Regions from separate parts of the Homo sapiens genome. Here region 1 is linked to region 2. Evidence: promoter capture Hi-C in human tissues and cell types (Jung and others, 2019). All regions are on one chromosome and are shown on one strand. The core of a region is centred on a gene start or on the middle of the fragment in contact, and the rest is flanking DNA. Distances in the headings are between cores, read along the strand shown.

Region 1 (7,369 bases), core at 2,943-5,442, 550 kb before region 2:
AGAGTCACAAATAAATCTCTGTGTAGTATGAGGATGCTCATTACTTCCTAATCTGGATTTACATAGCTATTTGAACTAGCTACACACAACTATTTAATCAATGTGCATTGATACTTCTACTAAAGCTAGTCAGTAAATAAAATTATAGGCTATGAAAGTTTTAGCCAAAGGTCATCTACCTGTAAATATTTTACATAAATGCCCAGTGATTCTTTGGCCAAGAAAATAGGGTCACCTAATGTACCTACAACATGTGTACAATATAACCTCCTAATTGAAATACATCTGAATGTCTATGAGGAGTTTTAGATTTCAAACCCCATTTAAAAATATATCTACTAAAAGCAAGTGATAGGGTTCTATCTATCTTTGCTCTTACTCTCTTGGATACTCACAAATCTGTTGGGCCTTAGATCTTTATTGCTGGGAACATAAGGAGTGCCTTTTGAGTTCTCATAAGGAGCTGTTAGCTTTGCAACTAGAAGAAGAAAAAGTTCCATAGCATCTACTATGCCCCTAGTCCTAGAAATTTCATTTAGTTATTCAAAAGACATAAGTTGAGGTTCTACTCTGTGCTTCCTTTATGGAGCAAGGTGACATATAAGAGCAGATGTGAGTTTTATAAGCTATCCTAGGTTTTCAAAACACCTACATGAAATATATTCCACCCCAAAGGTATACTACAATCTCTATAAGAGAGAGGCCTGAGTGTGTGCATTTTCATAACAATTTTCTAGAGGATTCTGATGTTCTTACTCTCTTTCCCAGCCCCACTCTCCCTTGCTAGTTAGAGCTATGATGCAGACAATAGGGATTCAATCATAAAATTATGTGGTTTATCTTGAGAATGGAAAATAAAAAACATGGTTAACGAAACATCGTTAAAAATAATACATCTTTTTATAGTCTTTATCATGCTCATTTTGGTATGCTAAGGATATGCATAGTTTAGGTATGTTAAAGTGAACTAAGTATGGCCTGAGAAGGACTCTGTACTTCTATATTTGAGTCCTTGTGGACTAACTGCAACCTATATTGAAAACCTAACTAGGAGTATGCACCTGTAATAATACCTGAGTCTTGGCCAATCCCAGCGGTCGTACTTCAACCATTCATACACTGCTGAGTGTTCAAACTGTGTTCAAATAAGGCAAAAGCCAACCTGTAACCAATCCAGCTGTTCTGTACCTCACTTCTGATTTCTATATGTCATTTCCAGTTTTTTGTCTATAAATCTTCTTCCACCACGTGGCTGTGCTAGAGTCGCTGCCAATCTGCCATAATTCTGGGGGCTGCCCGATTTGCGAATCATTCATTGCTCAATTAAACTCCTTTAAATTTAATTCAGTTGAAGTTTTTCTTTTATCAAGTACTAATTTGGCTGCTGCAAAAGAGAGTTCCAAAATATAGTAACATAGAAAAAAGTTTTGTCTCTCACATAAAAGTCCTGAAGAGTGGGCCGGGTGCGGTGGCTCACACCAGTAATCCCAGCACTTTGGGAGGCCGAGGCGGGCTGATCATGAGGTCAGGGGATCGAGACCATCCTGGCTAACATGGTGAAACCCCGTCTCTACTAAAAATACAAAAAATTAGCCGGGCATGGTGGCATGAGCCTGTAGTCCCAGCTACTCAGTAGGCTGAGGCAGGAGAATCGCTTGAACCCAGGAAGCAGAGGTTACAGTGAGCCGAGATCGCACCACTACACTCCAGTCTGGGCGACAAAGCGAGACTCTGTCTCAAAAAAAAAAAAAAAAAAATCCTGAAAAGTGGCCGAGGTTTGTTGGCTGACCCCATAATTATCACAGACCTACGTTCCTCCCATTTTGCTACTTTGACATCCTCTGCATGAGGCTTTCATGGTGACTGCTCTAGTCTCTCCCATTACCTCTGCAGTCCAGCCAGTGGCAAGGGGCCCAGGGGAGGAGAGGACATGGTCCTTTTCCATAAGAACCCAACCCAGAAGTTGGATTGAGCCACCCATCACAACCATTTACCTCCCTGGTCAGAGCATGGTCATGTTATCAAGCCTAACTAACATACAGGCAGCATATGTCCCATTAGAATTTGTATTATTGGGATAAAATGGGAGAGGAGAGACACTGGATACAATTAGCAATTTGTGTCACACATTACTAATAGAAGTCTGTAAGTGAATTGAAGTCTGCCTCAGTTTTAACAAGGAGCAAAAGAGTGCAACACTCAGTCTGCTCCTTAGGATTGTTTTTGATATGAACTGTCCTAGTTTGAGTACCTTGGGAAACAGACTCTGAGGTGGAGATTTGTGTGCAGAAGGTTTGTTGGGAAGTGTTTCTCAGGAATAGCGCCTGTGAGGGAACAAAGCTGGACTGGGCAGGGGGAGGAGTTGAAGTGTGGTGCAGTCCCAGAGGCCTCTGCTGATCCCATGGAGAGCTCTGGAGCTAGGATGGCCTTTTTTGTGATGGCCCTAAATTGAAGCAAGGCACCAGATCTTTGTACCCCCCTGCATTAACCTGTTAGAGTATCCAGACTGCCCTTGAGGAGGAGGTTTAATCCTGGGTATGGTGGCTACCTTAGGACAGCATTTCTCAACCTCAGCACTTTTGACATTCTGGAATGGATAATTATTGTAGGATACTATGCATTGCAGGATTTTAGGAGCATGCCTGAGCTCTACTCACTCGATGTTAGTAGCATGGGCACCCCCCTCAGCTGTAACAACCAAAAATGACCCTAGACATTGCCAAATATCCACTGTGGGGCAAAATCACCACCACTAGCAATCAGTGCCTTAGGCCAAGGGCAGTGCTTACAGATAAATTCAGCTGTAAACCATCACAGCCCATCTTCCCAACAGTTGGGAGAGTAAGTGCCTCCGTCCTAAAAGGGGCATCTAGGACCGTGACTACAAGATCACACAATTAAGGACAACGCTGGAGCTTCTGCCTCCCCATCCGGTGCTCTTTTCTCAGGAAAGTTATTTATAATTTACACAGTTCAAAAGAAAGAATAACTGATCTGGCCAGATAATCCTATAAGCTTAAGAAGGAGCCTGAGGAAAAGTCCCAGAGACTCTGAACTACGATTAAAAACTCATCAGCCAAGAGGAAATTCAAAGACAGCACAAGGACCTGGGTTTCCAGAATAGATGCACGAAAAGAGAATGGGGAATAAGAGAAGACCTGTTAGCATTCAGCTGCATTCCTGTGGATTAGAAAGCTCCAGTGCTGACGCTTCATTACATTCTTCTTGCCAGTCCTTTTCTGAAAGTAGTGCTCTTCTAGGCCCATAGGTAGCCTAACCTTTCACCCACATCTCAGACAAAGCTCTGCAGCCCCATCATTCACTTCCCTCCACTCCCTCCACCTTGCTTCACAACCAGCCCTTCCGGCCTCTTTGGACCTACTCGGTGCCTGCCTTCAGTTTCTCAGGCCCCCTGAGCAATCCTGTTTCCTGGAGGCTCTCAGGGCCTGAAGCCACATTCCTCCAGGCAATCTTGGGATAAGAGACCACATAATTGGGAGGAGGGGGATGAGAACATGGAGGTTCGTGCTTTCCTTCCTTTGCCTGAGAAGCAGCTGGTCTCCTATCGCTAACTAGATATTGAATGGACCAGCCTGACATTAAAAACCATGATGAGATCAAAATGACCACAGCAGGACTTTTTTTTTTTTAATTCAGAGCAAAAATACATGAGAGAGGGGAGAAAAAAAGAAGAAAACTGGTTAGAGTGAAACATTCCCCAAGAGTCACCTTGTTGGCTTTTTTCCAAGAATGAGGAAGGGGTGGTCAAGGCTACATGTTTAATGATCTGTCCCATCCAAGGATCCTGCTGCTTCTCAGGAACTTGGAGGCCAGATGCTACATCTTAGACATGGACCTATTCCTTCCAAACCCTGTCGCCAACTGGTTCCTTCAAACCACTGTGTCTAGGCCAAATTCGGTATCAGCAGACACTGGTGAAAATACGACTAGACAATTCACAAGCAAGAAGGCTATGTTGCTCTTTGTTAATTATACACACCCTCCTTCAGACATTTTCTTTAATATGCCATTTATACTATAGCTAAATTCGACTGAGCACTTAGTGTGTATCTCCTCTAAGGCTATGACCTTGACATGTGTTATCTTTTCAATCACATAAACCAAAAGTCTCACCCCCACCCCCGTTTTACAGATGAGGAAACTGAGGCACAGAGTCCAAGGTCACTTCCCAGAGGATGATGGCCATGGAGCCCAAACCCAGGAAATGTGGCTCCAGAGCCCTCTTGTCACCGTGAGGTCCACCCCCCTTGGTGCCCCTCCTCCTGGCCACACTTCTCTCCTACTGAGGAGAATGGAGGTGAACAGGGTAGTTCACCTTTGTGAGGGCACAAGCATAAAAACTAGCCTTAACCTCCCAGCAAGGGTCAGACACAAAAACTAACCACAGGAACACTTTCTTGCCAATCAAATCTTGCCAAACACCAAGCAATTTTGTGCATCAGACTCCGAGGGCAACAAGCCAGGTGAGATAATCTACAAAATTTGCTTTTAAAACGGCTGGAGAGGAAGCCGAAGGGGTCTGCTCTCCCTGAATATCCCACAGGGTGATCCAGCGCATGCGAATTTTCCCAATTTGAATGATTCTTTTTGAAATAGAAATGTAAAACTACCTTCAGTTTGCTCTTTTGCCAGGCCAAAATTACTTCCTTTCTATAAACACTCTAAAAATATTGACTGCCCCATAACCAAGTTAGTATTTGCTTTAATTTATGGTATTCCAAGTTGAGAGAGTACTGAAGTCAGAGTCAGAAAATCCAACTTTGACAAATGCTGGCAGTTTGGACCTGAGCTACGCATTTCCCTTCACTGGGCCTTAGCACTTTCATCCATAAGTGGCGACGATGCCGTGTGCAAAATGAAAAGCCACATGGCGCAGTAGTGGCGAGCTCAGGCTCAGCAGTCAGCCTCATGCTTGGTTCCTGACTTTATCCCTTCCTAGAGTGTGACACTAAACTTGTTATTTAACATCCCTGAGTCTCGATTTTCTCATTTTAAACTAGGGATAATTATAGTGCCAATCTGGGGGGTTGTCATAATTAAAGAAGATGTACATGTAAAGCTCTTAACTCAGAGCCCAGAACATGGCACACAGGCAACTTCCATTGAATTATAAAGGTCTATGGAAATCAAAGTTATATTCTGCCTGTTAGTTTTCCCTCTCAAATGCTACCACTCGATATCACCTTGCTTTTCTTTGAAATAATTAAATATTTAAATGCTAGTTTTCCAAGAAAAAAAATTAGTTTACTTTTGCTGAAATTTCTAAAATGTGCCTTATATCCATCTGAAAAAGAGCTCTTTCTAACTTGTGTCTTTCACAACCAAATTTTCTGTTGGAAAGGAAACCAAAATAAACCTTTATAATTTTAATGGCTCAAGGTAATTTTCCTTATTAGTGAGGGTAGTTCTAGCTGCTGTAAGAGGTAAACCCAGAAATCTCAGTGACTTCGTATGTTTTCTTTATGTGAACTTCTTTTTTTTTTTTTTTTTTTTTGAGACATAGTCTCACTCTGTCACCCAGGCTAGAATGCAGTGGCATTATCTTGACTCACTGCAATCTCCACCTCCCTGGTTCAAGCAATTCTTATGCCTCAGCCTCCCAAGTACCTGCGATTACAGGCATGTACCACCACACTTGGCTAATTTTTGTATTTTTAGCAGAGACGGGGTTTCACCATGTTGGCCAGGCTGGTTTCAAACTCCTGACCTCAGGTGATCTGCCCACCTCAGCCTCCCAAAGTGCTGGGATTACAGGCATGAGCCACCGTGCCCAACCTATGTGAGCTTATTTTATGTATGAAACAAAACAGATGTTCCTATTCAGTGTGCATGACTGTGTGTGAAGTAGGAGGGAGTAGGCACAAAGGCTTTTTACCACATTAACTCAAAAGTGACATGTTACTTCCATTCATGTTCCACTCATTGGACATATGGCCCCACTCCAGTGCAAGAGGGGTCTAGGAAATGTAGCTGGCCCCAGGCTGAGAAGCCACTCCTAGCACCTGTGGACAGCTACCCATCCCTGCCTCACCCTCTGAATAGAAGTTACGGTCATGTATTCAGATGTTTCATTTATTTGCCGTCTGTCAGATAGCTTTTCTAAACAAATAAGTAGTAGTCCTAGAGTTCAACTCTCCCAAATAAGATAACCTTGAACCCGAACAATTTGAGATCTCAAGTTGAATCTCACTGCTCATTTCACTGTCTTCCTGTGCTAATCCATGGAGAAAAGACCCTGTGTAAATTCAAAGTTTGTCATTAATTACTATTCAACATGTCTACATCCTAATAACTTCATGTCTTATTTAAGAAAAACACATAAAACACTGGGAATGGTGTCAGGTGGGTAATAAACGCTCAATATCAAGTAGTTATTATATGTCCTGTAGTCCCAGGTGAAAATATGAAGTGAAAGAGGCTATAGGAGAGTGAAGAGTAGGAGCCGATGGAACCATAACCCTCTGAGACCACATTGTTTCAAATGCCTAACCCTCCTGTGGAGTGACTCACTCTTCCCGACTTGGCATGACCCTCCCAGCTGTGATCTAGATCGCACACCCCATCCCTTCTTCACTGACATGGTCAGAGACACACAGAAGCCCTACGCTCTACTCTTCCCTCTGTACAACAGTGCTATGGGTTTTGCTGGCAGATAGTAAAATTTAGAAATGTTCATATATTCTGTATTTTTCTAGTGGGCTATATAATAAATTCTTAACTTATTCCCTCTGCCTCATAAGCTTTTCCAAGGGAAAATTTGGTTGATTTTTTTTCCTTTTATGTCTTAGTACATGACTACATGGAACAGCCTTTGGGGTACAAATCATTATTTTTCTTGTTGCCATGGTGTTTATCATTTCTTCACAAACACTCTGAACAACAACATCCAGGAAAACTACATTTTGTCCCCTCCCTCTTAAAGCCTTTACCGTATTTCTTTATCCACTATTTCTTTCATTCAAGATGATTCAACCATTAAAATTAAAACCTTTAAGGAAAATATCAAAGGGGGATAATAGCTCATATTCAGTGAAACTAGATTGGTAAGGGGGCTCAGAGTTGCCAAGAAACAAACATAACAGGAAGTTAACTTATTTACCACTTTTATTTATTCTCAGAAGTGGAATTTAAGTTTCAGGTGATTCATCTACTAAGACCTCTCCCAACAACAGTGCCTACTTTCTTAAGAGATTAAACCTATATTATTTTATTGGTTAATTCAAGAACAAATCCCTAAGATGTCAATCCAGAACAATTTTTCCCTTCAATTTGTTTTACATCTTCCATTTAGATTTGGACTGCTGATTTGATGGGGCAGGAGAACTGAGTTTTCTTCATTTCAGGGCCT
Region 2 (7,169 bases), core at 1,862-4,361:
AGACACATCCATTGTATGACACGCCATTAATTTATATACCACTAAGAAAGAAACAATGTGGCTAATTTAAAATTATAATATCTTATCACTTGGAACTTGTAATACCTAGTGAAACAACTCTTCTATACTTAATTAGACATGGATTGTTATATCTAATTCCTGTGCAAACATTAAGAGGAAAATATAAATGAAATAAATTGGCTAAGGTATTCTTTTTTGGGGGGGGATGGAGTCTCGCTGTTGCCCAGGCTGGAGTGCAATGGCACAATCTCGGCTCACTGCAATCTCTGCCTCCCAGGTTTCAAGTGATTCTCCTGTCTCAGCCTCCCGAGTAGCTGGGACTACAGGCATGTGCCAGCACACCAGCTAATTTTTGTATTTTTTCTGAGAGACAGAGTTTCACTATGTTGGCCAGGCTGGTCTTGAACTCCTGACCTCGTGATCTGCCCGCCTTGGCCTCCCAAAGTGCTGGGATTACAGGTGTTAACCATGGTACCCGGCCAAGGTATTCTTAAACTTCTCATTCAGGCCAACGTTCCTGAATCACTTCTCAACTCAATCACTGACATCTATGTTTATCCACGTAATAGCCTTATTTGTGCCAATGAGAATATTGTTGTTGGTCAGACGCGGTGGCTCACACCTGTAATCTTAGCACTTTGGGAGGCCCAGGTGGGTGGATCACAAGGTCAGGAGTTCAAGACCAGCCTGGCCAACATGGTGAAACCCCATCTCTACTAAAAATACAAAAATTAGCTGGGTGTGGTAGTGCGCACCTGTAATTCCAGCTACTCAAGAGGCTGAGGCAGGAGAATTGCTTAATTGGAACCCAGGAGGTGGAGGTTGCAGTGAGCTGAGATCACACCACTGCACTCCAGCCTGGGCTACAGAGTAAGACTCCCTCTCAAAAAAAAAAAAAAAAAAAAAAAAAAAAAAAGAATAATGGTGAATGCAGCATTTCTTCTAAGAATCTAGAAAAATAAATAAAAATCAACCAAAGGACATACCAATGGTTCCATTAAACCAGAAGTTGAGACTGTCTCCTGGTTATCTTGGGCTCCTCATTGCCAAGTGAACCTACAGGCAAAGAAAGGGGTTAACTGTACTGGCCAGAGTAATCGACCTTGTCTATTAAGGAGAAATTGGGTTCTTATGGCCCAATGTGGGTAAGGAGGAGTATATGTGGAAAGTATGAGATCTCTGGGGGTACCTCTTACAAGCCTTGTGTTCTGTGATTTTAGAATTGCTTATGTTTCACTTTTTGCTAATTTATAAAACATACAGCAGTTTGTTGTACAGGATAAACTCACTGAAAACATTTGACCAGAAGTCTGATAAGAAAAACGGGGAGGGCCATATGCTTAAGATTAGTGGTGTGTACATAAGCATTTTTTTAAATTTTTGTTTGTTTTGAGACAGGGTCTTGCTCTGTGGCCCAGACTGGAGTGCAGTCTTGCAATCATGGCTCACAGCAGCCTCTGCCTCCCGGGCTCAGGTTATCCTCCTACCTCAGCCTCCTGAGTAGATGGGACTACAGGCACATGCCACCATGCCTGCCTAATTTTCAGTATTTTTTTTTGTAGAGACAGGTTTTTACCATGTTGCACAGACTGGTCTCAAACTCCTGGGCTCAAGAGATCCACTTGCTTAGGCCTCCCAAAATGTTGGAATTACAGGTGTGAGCCACTACGCCCAGCCATGAGTGTTTATTTTATTTATGCCTTACATATTCTTTTTTTTTTTTTTTTTTTTTTTAGAGACAGGGTCTTGCTCTATTGTCCAGGCTGGATTCAACCTTGTGGGCTCAAGTGATCCTCCTGCCTCAGCCTCTGGAGTAGCTGGGACTACGGATGCATACCACCACATTCTGCTCATGCCCTATATATTCTTTTGTATGTATGGGTGTAAAAACAGAGATAAAAACAGAGATATGGATGCCATCAACTCACTGATGTTTGAAGTTCTGAGAAAGCATAAATCAGTAAAGGAGTTAACTGAAATTTAAATCTCACAAATGAGCAAAAAATATGATTTCTGGTATATGATCTATGGGGTTCTTTGAATACTATTGCTTAAGAATAAAATACTTTGCGATTTCAATAAATTGAAAATTATGGTACAAGGCAAGGAAGGGGAGCTACTAGCTATGAGACTTTTGTAAATTATGTAACATCTCTGAACCTCTGTTTCCTCATCTGTTAAAATAGGGACAAAGTGCTACTTAGGTAAGACACTTCAGAAATGGGGCTCTGAAAAAAGTCACTTTTCTTCTCCTAACGAAAGGTTTCTAAACCTCAGCACTCCAGACATTTCAGGCCAGGTAATTCTTTGTTGTGCGGCGCTGTCCTGCGCACTGTAAGGCGTGAAGCAGTATTCCCGGCCTCTACTCACCTGTGCCCTCCACCATCTGTAGATTCCAATGACATCTCACCCCAGATGAGAGGCTGAAAATGATTCATACATTGCCAAATGTCTCCTGGGAGGCAAAACTGTTGCAGTGGAGAACCGCTGTCCTAACCCCATGTTCATCCAATAAAGGGTTTGAGGGACTGAGAAATGAAACAATAGTCCCGAAGGAGTAGAATGCAGTGGCCCCAACTCCTAGTTTCATGAAGGCAGGAACTGTGACTCAGAGGCCTGGGGATGCGGAGCTCTGAACTGCCAGCTGGTAGGAAAAGTCCTAATTAATGGATTGAATCATGAAGGGAGGGCAACAAGGAACAAATGGAGAGGGCCAGTGGCCGAGCCTTCGGTCTCAGGATCAAAGAGGCCCACACTGGTCACCACTTACGCTGCTGGGCTGACTGCTAGGTAGACGTATCTGCAGATAAACCGAGACAATGACGCGGTGGGAAAGGCCTTGGGGAGCGAGGAGGAGGAGCCGGGAGAGGCCAGCTTTGGTCCGGCGGCCACCGCCCCAGGCGCCGCGACTCGAGCCTCAGGCCCCGCCCCTCGCCCTCCTGGTCCCGCCCCCGCTCTCCGAGCCCCGCCCCTCGCCCTCCTGGTCCCGCCCCCGCTCTCCGGGCCCCGCCCCTCGCTCTCCGGGCCTGGGCGGGTGGCGCCTTGGCCTCCGCCTCCGCTCGCCTGCGCGCGGCCCTGCGTGAGGGGGCAGAGGCGAGGTGGAGGCGTTGGCGCTGCCACGTCTGGGCCGCGGTTCCCAACTGTGGCGCGGGCGGTGGAGGAGGAGGTGGGGCTGGCGCTGAAGCCGGATCCGGATCCGGTGCTGTGCACACTGGTGGGGGAGAGTCCGACGCGCCTGGCTAGGAGCGCCGACCGCAGGGCCTCTACGGGTGAGGAGGGACCGGGGCCGGGGCGCGAGAGCAGGACCGTGTGTCCTGGGGGCTGGGGCGGGCCTGCCCTCAGGTTTATCTAACAGGTGTGTCTGGTGCCCCGGCCAGGCCCCCGGGGGTGTTGTGTGGAGGAGCTGGGCGTTAATCCTCGCCAGCTGGGTGCACATGGTGTGGAGCGCGGTTCCCAGGAAGTTGAACGCACGCGCGCCTGGAGCAGAGGTTAAGGATGATGGCCAGCGGTCCGGCCATACGCTGGTCTTGGCCTGGCAGGGCTGGAACTGGGACTGGGGTCGGAACTTCGCTCCCCAGACTTTGGCGTGGGAAATGAGACAGTTGGTCGCGCTCTCTGCAGCCATCGGTTTTGAATGGGCACGAACGTCCCAGGCCCCTTCTCTTCTCCCATTCCCGGGCGCATCCCACGGTGGTCGGAGCCATTGAGGCAGCTGCTCCGAAGACCACCTCCGCACCGAGTAGGTCGGCGCTTTCCCCAGGGTACAGAGGGACATTCTTTGTCTCTTTTTCCTAGGCTCCTACCCCTAGAAATACCGAGTACTGTACTGTGATTTCTGTTGCGGGAGCTGATGTTTATGTAAGCCAAACTAATTTAAAATTTTCATACAAAATTGAACGGGCGATTATAGGATTCGTTTTGTTAGGATAATCCCTCATGAACGAATCCTAGAATGGATCTTAAGAAATTAATTTAGGCAGGATTTGCTAAATAGGGGAGAGAGCGCTAGCTGTATGGTATGATGATGTAAAGATTGGGGTCTGTTGAGGATGGTAATCGAGCTCAAGATGCGAAAACGAGGATTCTAGCCCCAAGTCACTTACTTGCTGTGTTACCTAAGGGGCAAGTCTTGGGAGTTCCAGGTGCTCCAGCTTCCTCATCGGTAGACTGGGAATAACGCCTAGATTGTAAAGGTCAAACTATCAGAAAATACTTTTGAACATTCATGCAGTTACACAATTTAATAAATATGGCCAGGTGTGTTAAAAATCTTTAACGGAATAGATTCAGAATGGATTCTTGTTATCGAAATTGTTATAAAATGAATATAAAGGAATCCGAAGTCCGCCCCTCCCCCATTCACCTGTACTTAGAAGGTTCCCCAGGAGCTCTTGAGAAATACATAGGCTGGTTTAGATTTGGCCTTAGATTGTATTTTTTAAAATTTGTAGATCGACTTTTAAAATCTTCATCTCCGGTGTCTATTACTTGTTGCTCTCCGTTGGTTGCTTCTAGCAGCAGCCTCTCTCCCCATTCGTATTCCAACCTGATACAGAGGCTCAGACGCCAAATAGTTGAAGTTTTGTTTAAAAAATATTCAATTGAGTGAAAAAATATTCAACTGATGTGATGACTAGTAAAAATGAATTTGGTGTATGCTTTCCGCGATATTGTGGCAGTTTGGGAATTTTTTTTTTTTTTTTTTTTTTTGTCCTTCTGGATTTTCTGAAATGTGACCTACAGGTAAGTCTTATTCGTTATTCATTCACTAGGCATTATTGGGCTAGGGTTAGGCTTAAACGGGTCTTCTAAACGCCTGCTAATTTAGCAGTTAATCAGAAAAGGTTCTGAGGAATACTTAAGGAGGATTAGTGTTTAAAGTTCATCTAAAAACTTTAAAGAACCTAATGATATGATGAGATTCCGCTTCACACAACTGTGCAATTTTATTCGCAGAAATTTCCTAGTTTTGCAATATCTGGGCACCTGAAGATGCTAAAAGATTATTTATATAAAATTACTTATTTAATTATGTTCTAAACCCCCTTGGAACCAGGTTTCAAGTCATATCTTGCTTCACTTTGCCCAGTACCTTAGTTGGGCACCAGCAGAATTTTACGGTTTGAGGACAGAGTGAGCTAAAGTGGGCCTTCAGTATGGCTCTGTTTTGTAGAATAGCTCATAAAAAAATTTTTGATGTTAATTTCTGATTGCCTGGTTAATAGATTCTTATTTCAATCTGTAATGCTTTGTTTAATGTATTTTGACTAGTCTGATTCCCATTTTCCAAATGTAGGTTCTAAGTGCTGCTTATGACTTAATTTTTAACCCTTGTACAACAGTAAGATAGGGAATTTATCTACTCTAGTGCATCTTCAGTGTAATGGTTAAGAGCAGAGTCTGAAGTCATACTACCTAGCAGGACTGGCTACGTAATCTGTGGTAATCCAAATTAAAATGCAGGGTTCCTTGTTAAAAAATTAAGAACTTCAAAACAGTGGCAGCAGGGTATCAAACTTAAGTGCAGGGCCCTGTGTAACGGCACAGGTCAGGGGCTTCTGAAGCTGGCCCTGTTGCCTCATTTTGAATCCTCACTCTGTTCTTATTGGCACTCTAACCTTGAGCAAGTTACTGTGCCTGCTTCCTTATCTGTAAAATTGGGATAATAATGATACATCGTTCATTGTATTTTTAAGAGTTAACATATAGAAAGTTTTCAATAAGTGTTAGCCAATATTATTTATTTTTATGATCATTCGTGGAAAAGGACTGTCTCATCAAAGAAAAGTACAAGAAAATATTAGTATTTCCTGGTTAAAATTCATTATTTAAGGGCTTCATAATCCTAGTTGTTTTCCTGTATACTTCTTCCCTCTCATGAAAATTATTAACCCTATTTTTCATGTTTTCTAGACCACATTTTTATTGTAAACACAGACAACTTTATAGGAAAAAGGAATCTAGTTAAATGTGGTTAAGGTTGATTTAAATTCTCTTTTGAGTTTTCTTTGAACTTTGTATTTACAACTATATGTTTAATAGCAAGACCAAAATGTTTAAATAGTGTGCTGCCTCGAGGAATTTACATTTTTAATACTGTACACATTTCACTTTATTAATACTTAGCCTGTTTATCTACATACCTGAAAAACAATGTTGCTACCTACCATTCAGATGAGATTACACACAAAAACCTCAAGGGTCCAATTTAGACAAAACACTAAAACACGTGGACTCAATTTCATCTATTAAAAACTTGTTTTGGCTGAGCATGCTGGTTCACACTTGTAATTCCAGAACTTTGGGAGGCTGAGGCTGGAGGATCACTTGAGGTCAGGAGTTCAAGACCAGCCTTTCCAACATGGCAAAGCCCCATCTCTACTAAAAATACAAAAATTAGCCAGGCGTGGTGGTATGAGCCTGTAGTCACAACTACTCTGGAGGCTGATGTGGGAAGCTGAGGTAGGAGGATCACTTGAGCCCAGGAGTTTGAGGCTGCAGTGAGCTATGATTGCACCACTGCACTCCAGCCTGGGCAACAGAGTAAAACCCTGTCTCAAAACAATAAAACAAAACAAAAAACCTATTTTGAATGGCTATTAAACTTGTTAAATTTGAAATGACTGCTTGATCATCACAATTTCTATATTTTCCTTAATATTGTTAGAACTGGGTATAGTGTATGCAGCATAATTTGAATCATTTTGTGTGTGTGTGGCTGGGGGGACCTCTCAGCAGTCTACATTATAAACTACGTTCTTTTCTACCCAAGAATGCTAACTTTTGGTATAACATAAACGTAAGAGCCTGTCATTCTTTTTGTAGTTCCTGTAACCAGCACAGTGCCTGATTCATGAATTAAAGGTAAAAAAAAATGAACAAGAATTTATAAACTTTAATTTTAAATTTATTGCTAACTAGCATATATCTTATTAAGTACTTGCAGTATTCCAGGCACTGCTAAGTGCATGACTGCATACAGTAATGCATTTAATTCTCCCAGTAATTTCATCTCCATTTTACAAATGAGGAAACTAGATTCTAAAAGCTTAATTACCGTAGTACATATCACACAGTTGACATTTGAACACCAGGTATGAATCCAAAGCTCATGCTCTTTCTATGCCTAGGTTTAAATCCTGGCTCCG

What was found. The method cuts DNA at HindIII sites, captures the fragments that hold promoters and counts their contacts. A contact is called where the count stands out against the background at its distance.
Region 1: a fragment that was not itself captured here is called in contact with the fragment with the promoter of GNPNAT1 in region 2 in 2 of the 25 tissues and cell types used here (lymphoblastoid cells and mesendoderm cells).

The regions. Positions count from the first base shown.
Region 1 is chr14:53,337,567-53,344,935 of GRCh38, reverse strand. LOC105370504 (a long non-coding RNA gene) reads right to left here. Exons shown (of 4, transcript XR_943876.3): 1 at 1-7,369. Among named protein-coding and RNA genes, the nearest start is that of DDHD1-DT, 190 kb to the right of the region's middle. The HindIII fragment of the contact is 6,842 bases long and covers 772-7,369 here.
Region 2 is chr14:52,787,549-52,794,717 of GRCh38, reverse strand. GNPNAT1 (glucosamine-phosphate N-acetyltransferase 1) reads left to right here and starts at 3,111. Exons shown (of 6, transcript NM_198066.4): 1 at 3,111-3,290. LOC105370500 (a long non-coding RNA gene) reads right to left here and starts at 2,930. Exons shown (of 3, transcript XR_943867.3): 1 at 2,392-2,930. RefSeq lists enhancers at 2,489-3,003, 3,004-3,517, 3,625-3,714, 3,795-3,884 and silencers at 2,915-3,134, 3,235-3,314. The HindIII fragment of the contact is 28,817 bases long and covers 1-7,169 here.